Linked DNA regions of Homo sapiens: region 1 is linked to region 2. The links are contacts of gene promoters, found by promoter capture Hi-C in blood cells and fetal thymus (Javierre and others, 2016). All regions are on one chromosome and are shown on one strand. Each heading gives the region's core, a stretch centred on a gene start or on the middle of the fragment in contact. The rest is flanking DNA. Distances are from core to core; before and after follow the strand shown.

What was found. Contacts are between HindIII fragments. The CHiCAGO score rates a contact against its expected background, and 5 or more counts as called.
Region 1: a fragment that was not itself captured here is called in contact with the fragment with the promoter of CABP5 in region 2 in 1 of 17 cell types (M2 macrophages); the score reaches 5.4 in M2 macrophages.

What each region holds. Positions count from the first base shown.
Region 1 is chr19:47,961,241-47,965,202 of GRCh38, reverse strand. No RefSeq gene overlaps it. Among named protein-coding and RNA genes, the nearest start is that of SNAR-C1, 7.5 kb to the right of the region's middle. The HindIII fragment of the contact is 5,095 bases long and covers 1-3,962 here.
Region 2 is chr19:48,042,210-48,046,673 of GRCh38, reverse strand. CABP5 (calcium binding protein 5) reads left to right here and starts at 2,595. Exons shown (of 6, transcript NM_019855.5): 1 at 2,595-2,814. The coding sequence starts at 2,752. The HindIII fragment of the contact is 2,868 bases long and covers 475-3,342 here.

The sequences.
Region 1 (3,962 bases), core at 1,001-3,500, 81 kb after region 2:
AAGCAATTCTGCTGCCTCAGCCTTCCAAATAGCTGGGACTACAGGCATGCACCACTACACTCAGCTAATTTTGTATTTTTTAGTAGAGACGAGGTTTCCCCATGTTGGTCAGGCTGGTCTCGAACTCCCGACCTCAGGTGATCCGCCCGTGTCGGCATCCCAAAGTGCTGGGATCACAGTTGTGAACCACCACGCCCAGCCTGAAGGACCCTTGTATACACTGAAAGCCGAAACAAGAAGGTGGAGCATCACCTTGTTCAACCTCAGCAGGGCATGAGGGCATTGAACAACTCCAGTTCTTCCCTGCTGTTCACGTGTTCATGAATGGCCAAGAAAACAGTGAGTATATGCCTGGGCACAGCAGCTAATGCCTGTAATCCCAGCACTTTGGGAAGCTGAGGCAGGTGGATCGCCTGAGGTCAGCAGTTCGAGACCAGCCTGGCCAACATGGCGAAACCCTGTCTCTACTAAAAATACAAAAATTAGCTGGGTGTGGTGGTGCCTGCCTGTAATCCCAGCTACTCAGGAGGCTGAGGCAGGAGAATCACTTGAACCCGGGAGGTGGAGGTTGCAGTGAGCTGAGATTGCACCACTGCACTCCAGCCTGGGAGACAGAGTGAAACTCCGTCTCAAAAATACATTAATTAATTAACTAATTTAAAAAAAAAAAAACCAGAGACTCCAGGGGTAAGAGGAGGCCAGAGAACGGGACCCTTGCTCAGCCTGCAGGATCAGGGATCACTTCTAGGAAGGGACAAGGGACAACAACCAGGCTGGGTCCCGATAGTTTAATGACAATTAGGCAGGTGCAGAGGTGAAGGGGGATGGCAATGTCCAGAGGCCCTGTGACCACACACACACACACACACAAACACACACACACACACACACACACACACACAAACGCCCACCCTCCACTCTTAAACCTATCCATGCTTATGTTAGAAAACACTTAGGGCCAGGCACGGTGGTCCAAGCCTGTAATCCCAACACTGGGAGGCCAAGGCGGGTGGATCACCTGAGGTCAGGAGTTTGAGACCAGCCCGGCCAGCATGGTGAAACCCCATCTCTACTAACAATACAAAAATTAGCCAGGTGTGGTGGCAGGCGCCTGTAATCCCAGCTACTCAGGAGGCTGAGGCAGGAGGATCGCTTGAATCCGGGAGGCTGAGGCTGCAGCGAGCCGAGATAGCAACACTGCACTCCAGCCTGGGCGACAGAGTGAGACTCCATCAAAAAAAGAAAGAAAAGAAAAGAAAAGAAAAGAAAAGAAAAGAAAAGAAAAGAAAAGAAAAGAAAAGAAAAGAAAGACACACACTTAGGCCAGCTCTTTTCAAATGGTGAGTCATAATCTTCCATTTATCAAAGCACAACCAGCATTGTTTAAATTAAAAATACTGCAAACGTGGATGGAAAAACACAGAGTGTTTCATGTGTATGGCATGAGTTATTTCTAAAAAGGTTTAGAGATTGTATAGATAGATAGGGATGCCTAAATAGAAAGATATAGATGATGGATAGATAGAAGTCAGCTCATATTTTAAAGTCTATTCTTTCTATAGATTATGGTTAAAAAAACGGAAACATTGTCTTTGTGAACCCATAAATCTCATCTTAATCTTTCACAAAGCATAGGAAATCTTTTGTAAAGAATATGGCTGACTTGCTTTTCCGCTCTAGGAATGCTAGCAGAAAGCCATGCTTTTTGAAGTGAGCTTCAGGGTTCCAGTGGAGACAGGCAGAGCCTGGTGTGATTGAGCCCAGGTGGTGGCAATTAATCCCTAAGAAGCAAAGTGATACCAGGCAACAGGGTATAATTACTAATCAGATCATAGAGAATGGCTGGTGCAAGAGCGACATCTGGTGGTGATAATCATAGGTTTTTTTCAGAAATGAATTCAACTGACAGTTCACTTAAAGACATTCATTGTGGCCAGGTGCAGTGCTTCATGCCTGTAATCCCAGCACTTTGGGAGGCCGAGGCGGGCAGATCACGAGGTCATGAGATCGAGACCATCCTGGCCAACATGGTGAAACCCCGTCTCTACTAAAATACAAAAAATTAGCCTGGCATGGTGGCACACACCTGTAGCCCCAGCAACTTGGGAGGCTGAGGCAGGGGAATTGCTTGAACCCGGGAGGGGGCGGTTTCAGTGAGCTGAGATTGCACCACTGCACTCCAGCCTGGTGACAGAGCAAGACTCTGTCTCAAAAAAAAAAAAAAAAAAAAGACGTTCATTGCACAGAAGATCCACAGTATAACAGCCAGACTGGAACCATCGCGCTAGAGTCATGGCTTTTCTCCCAGTTCCAGGCACAAGACAGTTCACCAACTCAATGCCCCTTGAGTGAAGGCAAGGCTGGGTAACCAGGCACTGCTATAAGGCCATAGGCAGACACAGTAAGAAAATGCAAAGGGACCAGGCACGGTGGCTCACGCCTGTAATCCCAGCACTTTGGGAGGCCGAGGGGGGTGGATCCCCTGAGGTCAGGAGTTCGAGACCAGCCTGGCCAACATGGTGAAACCCCATCTCTACTAAAAATACAAAAATTAGCTGAGCATGGTGGCGCATTCCTGTAATCCCAGCTACTCGGGAGGCTGAGGCAGGAGAATCGCTTGAGCCTGGGAGGCGGAGGTTGCAGTGAACTGAGATCGCGCCATTGCACTCCAGCGTGAGAGACTAGAGCGAAACTCTAGTCTCTCAGAAAAAAAAGAAAGAAAGAAAGAAAGAAAGAAAAAAGAAAGAAAGAAAGAAAAAAGAAAGAAAGAAAGAAAGAAAGAAAGAAAGAAAGAAAGAAAGAAAGAAAGAAATTACAAAGGTAAATACATAAACTTTCCAGAGCCTACTGAATACTGGTTTTGAGCAAAGATTAGTTTTCAAGGACTAGGAATACCACTGATATCCAGTGATTAGAGTGGAAGATTATAGGAACATGAGACAGAGTCCTGAGTTAGGTTCACTTCTCTGTTAGCTCAGTGTGATACCAAATACTTTCTGCAATGATTTCCGCAGGGCCCAGGAGTAATACAGTTTGAAAAAAATATTTTCAGAAAGGCGTATGACTCACATCGGTTCCCAGACCCTTGGGCCCAGCTATTAAGATAGGGAAAAGTCACATTGCACGTCATCGTAGTTAGCCTCCTACGAGAATGGAGCGCGTGAAGAAACATTATGTTCCTTGGGAATTTCAGAGCTTGGTGGCACCAACAAAGACATGAAAGACTGTTGTCAAACTCTATTCATTTATCTAAATGGGACAGTACAAAAAAAATGCTGAGGCTTAAGCAATTACCATGATTTATTTTTATGTCATTCAAGTCAACCGACTCCTTCTGTAGCTGCTCTTCTACATTGATCTTATTCCTGGAGACTCTGGACCTGGGTAAGCACCTACTTAGAGTGTGTAGTTACATGCCCCCATTCTAAATGCAGGAGAAGCTGATAAACACAGTGTAGCCAAGCAGCCATGTCATCAGCTTTCATTGTGTTACAATGATGATGAAGCGGAGAATGGGCTTCTGTAAACTCTCCTTCATGGCTCCTAGAACATAATCCACTTCCTGGCACTGGAAGAGCATCTTGCAGTGGGGTCATTCTACAGAACTGACTTCCTCCATGAGACCTTTTTTTTTTTTTTTTGAGTCGGAGTCTTGCTCTGTCACCCAAGCTGGAGTGCGGTGGTGCAATCTCGGCTCACTGCAACCTCTGCCTCCCGGATTCAAGTGATTCCCCTGCCTCAGACTCCCAAGTACCTGGGATTACAGGCCCCCACCACCACATCCAGCTAATTTTTGTATTCTTAACAGAGACGGGGTTTCACCATGTTGGCCAGGCTGGTCTCGAACTCCTGACCTCAACTCATCCACCTGCCTTGGCCTCCCAAAGTGCTGGGGTTATAGGTGTGAGTCACTGCATCCGGCTGCATGAGACATTTAATACTTACCCGTCTTTAACACACTC
Region 2 (4,464 bases), core at 1,346-3,845:
AAACCACCAGTCATCCGAAAGAAGACCTTGATAGCAGAAGGATCCTGTTCAGAATTCTGTGTTGCATTCAGTCGTAGCTTTTTTTTTTTTTTTTTTTTTTTTTTGGACAGAGTTTTGCTCTTGTTGCCCAGGCTGGAGTGCAATGGCACGATCTTGGGCTCACTGCAACCTCCGCCTCCTGGGTTTAAGCGATTCTGCTGCCTCAGCCTCCCGAGTAGCAGGGATTACAGGCATGTGCCACCATGCCGGGCTAATTTTTTTGTATTTTTAGTAGAGACGGGGTTTCTCCACGTTGGTTAGGCTGGTCTCGAACTCCTGACCTCAGGTGATCTGCCCACCTCAGCCTCCCAAATTGCTGGGATTACAGGTGTGAGCCATCGCGCCCAGCCTCGGCCATGTCTTCTTAGTCTCCTCCAATCTCGAACGGTTCCTCAATCTTTCCTTGATTTTCATGACCTTGACATTTTTGAAGCTTACAGGCCAGTTATTTTGTAAACCATCCCTCCATGTGGGTTCGTCTGACGTCTGATTATGATGAGATTCAGGAATCTTACAGAAGCGATGCTGTTCTCGTGACATCCTGTCAGGTGGTGTGAAATTCCAACTTGTCACATTACTGATGATGTCCACTTTCATTGACTAAGATGGTGTTTGCCACGTTTCTCCACTATAACGTAACTCCTTTGAAATTGGTATTTTGTAGGGAGGTATTTTGAGCTCTGTAAATATCAAACTTCTCACTTAGCTTTTTATTTATCTGAGTATGGACTCCTGGTTTCTTCTGTGGTCCTGTATAATTTGTTACTATCATTATTTATTTTGACTCTCAAACTGCCCAGTATGGCCAATGGAGCTTCTTCAAGCAGACTCCTGTGTTCTTTCCACATGTTCTCACAACACTTTGAGCAATTTCTTGCTTTAAGCATAGGACGTTTGTAGGCTCATCTTGTTCTTTTTTTGCTCTAGACATGGAATCAGCCAAATTTCCTAGGCACTCTGGTTCCATTTGGTGGAGAATGGTATATAGAAGTCAAGATTTGGATGCTAGTGGTGCTCATTCATATGGGCCATCATTGTTTCTATGTTCTCTTAGTGGAGAGAGCTAGAGAATATGTGTACAAATGTTCCTATACACACTGAAACTATGTGTTTATTTTTATCTCTCTATGTATAATTGAGATCCATGAGGACATACCAACGCCTCCAGTTATAGTCCAACACCACAGGGCTCATTCGACTTTCCTCCTTTCTGTCTTAGTAACTCCCTTTTCCAACAGTAGGAGACCTGGCCCCCATTCCCCTTACTCACTGTGTGTAGCCAATTTCCCTTTTCCTTTGCCATTTCACCCCTGTGGGGATGTCTTTCCCAGCCTAGTCTGGCTTCAACACCATACACCATGCTATTCCCATGAGTGGACATTTCTCTCTCTGCTTGGGTTATGACAACCCATGCCAGATCCCCTCTATGTGGCCTCCTTCCTAATTGCCTTACAGTGCAAACCTCCACCCCAGACAATGCCTGCATATAAATGCCCCCGCCCCACTCAGCTCATGTTCCAACACTGCACACCAAGCTGCCCATCTGTGGATTTATCCCCACCATCTCCAGCCCCAACACCCTGGGTCATGCTGCCCCTCTATGTGGACTTCTCCTCACCCCACTACCCCACTGGAATGCTGGCTCTCCACGCCAGATGGCCCCCAGCCCCCTCCTCCCCTAACCCTACCTAGTGTGGAGTCGCAAAACCCCTTTGGGCTTTGACACCACCATAACTTCACACCCTCCCTGACACCCCCACCTTGCTTTTTCCCTCTAAATCATTCAGGAAAGACAGAAGGAAAGAGATGAACAGAGGAAGAGCAAATGCCATGCTCTTAGTCACCGTGTACGCCCACTTCCTGAAGTCCATGCTTGCATCCTGCTCACTCTCACACATTCCCGACTCACCCAGGAAAACTCCCTGAGGCCAGGGGTGCTGAGCTCTCCATCTCACTGCCCAGAGGCCAGTGTTGGAGTGACCCTTCACATGCTTGTTGGAACATTGAATAAATGATGCCGTCTGCTCTAATCCTCCATTTTCTTTTCTTTTTTTTCTTTTTTTTTCTTTTTTTCGAGACAGGGTCTCACTATGTCAGCCAGGCTGGAGTACAATGGTGCAATCGTAGTTCACTGCAGCCTGGAGTGCAATGGTACAATCATAGCTCACTGCAGCCTTGAACTCCTGGGCTCAAGCAATCCTCCCATCTCTGCCTTTGGAGCAGCTGGGACTACAGGTGTGTGCCACCATGCACGGCTAATTTTTTTATTTTTTGTAAAGACAGCCTCTCCGTATGTTGCTCAGCTGGTCTCAAACTCCTGGGCTCAAGCAATCCTCCCACCTCAGCCTCCCAAAGCGCTGGGACTACAGACATGAGCACCACATCCAGCCTCTAATCCCCATTTATAAAATGCACTTTCCAATTCCACTCTGGGGATAAAGGCGTCACAGAACCTGACTCTGCATTTCCCCACCCATATCATTCAAGCCAGATGGGGAGGCAGGGACAGCTCTGGTCCCTCCCCAACCCGGGTAGAGATTTCCAGCCCAGCTGTCACAGCTCTAAGACACCGGGACCGAAGGAGAAGCCAAGAGAGGCAGGAAGAGGTGGCAAAGGAGTGCTGGAGAAGATAAGGAGGCTGAGCTCCGACAGGGAGCAGGGAGGAGGGGCCATCTTGAGACTGGTGCCCTGCGAGCTCCACCCCACCCCTCCATGCAGTTCCCCATGGGCCCCGCCTGCATCTTCTTGAGGAAAGGCATTGCTGAGAAACAGCGGGTGAGGTGGGGAGTGAGGGGGAAGGGCGGTGGGCGGGGCAAAGGGAGCAGGGGTGTGGGACAAAGAAGGGGACATGATGGTGCCACAGAACCAGGGGAACAGGTGGATAGAGCAGGAGCTGAGAAGGTATAAGAAATTCCAAGGACCCTGGTGGGGTCATGTAAGCCAGTGAGATAAATGGGTGGGGGTAAAATCAAAAGTCAGGAGCAAAGAGAAGGAGAGAAAAGGAAGAAAAATGAAAAGGGAAAGTGGGATGATGTCATTGTTGAGATTACCATCATTCTTTTCTATGGATGCTCATTGTGATAATGGTGGTGATGATGGTGGTGGTGGTGATGATAATGATGACGTTAATAACAATAGCTGCCACTTATTAAGTCATTGTTCTGTGCCCAGCCCTGTGCAAAGGGATTTGCACACCTGATGTTATTTACACCTCAGAACAACTCATGAGGTCAGTGACTTTCATTCCCATTTTACAGGTGAGGAAAGTGAAGCTCTGAGTCATGAAGTCATTTGCCTTAAGCTTACACAGTTAGTAAGTGGCAGGGTCGGCCAAGTATAGTGGCTCATGCCTGAATCGCAGCATCTTGGGAGGCAGAGGCGGGAGGATCACTTATGTCCAGGAGTTTGAGACCAGCCTGGGAAACACAAGACCCCATCTCTACTAAAAATACAAAAAAATAGCTCAGCATGGTGGCATGCATCTGCAGTCCCAGCTACTCAGGTGGCTGAGGCAGGAGGATCGCTTGAGCCCAGGAAGTGGAGGCTGCAGTGAGCCCTGATTATGCCACTGCACTCCAGCCTGGGCAACAAAGTGAGACTTTGTCTCGTTAAAAAAAAGTAAGTGGCAGGGTCGGGTTTGCTTGATTCCTGTGGGCATGCTTTTTAAAATTTTTTTATTTTTCCATATATACCAACTTGTCCAGATATGTGGGCATACTTTTCATTGTTAGGCTTTAAGATCACCAAAAAAAGAGAATAAAAAAGGCCAGGCAGTGGCTCACGCCTGTGATCCCAGCCCTTTGGGAGGCCAAAGCAGGTGGATCACGAGGTCAGGAGGTCAAGACCAGCCTGGCCAAGATGGTGAAACCCTGTCTCTATTAGAAATACAAAAATTAGCCGGGTGCAGTGGCAGGCGCCTGTAATCCCAGCTACTCGGGAGGCTGAGGCAGGAGAATCGCTTGAACCCGGGAGGCAGAGGTTGCAGTGAGCCGAGTTCGTGCCACTGCACTCCAGCTTGGGTGACAGAGCGAGACTGTGTCTCAAAAAAAAAAAAGAGAGAGAGAATGAAAAAAAGGGTGATAAGGGACCGCAAGGAGGGGATCAGATGAAAGAGAAGCTGAGGGAAAGGCTCCAGGGATAAAGGGAGATGGGAAGGCTAAAGAGACCAGAGGTCAGTAGAATTTCCTTGTTAACATGCCATGTATATGTAAGCCCAACCCTTCAGGTATGTGCAGGAGTAGGTGGGGCAGCAATAACTGGACATTCTCAGAGTGTTTAGGAACTGGTCATGCTGGCACTGACCCTCCTGCCTGAAAGCCATTGAATGCTGTTTCCATGCACAGAGATTCTAACCTTTGGCAGGAAGATTGGAGGCAGGTGAGAAAGGAGTGAATGGGGGCTAGTGTGAAGAATTCTGACTTGGGA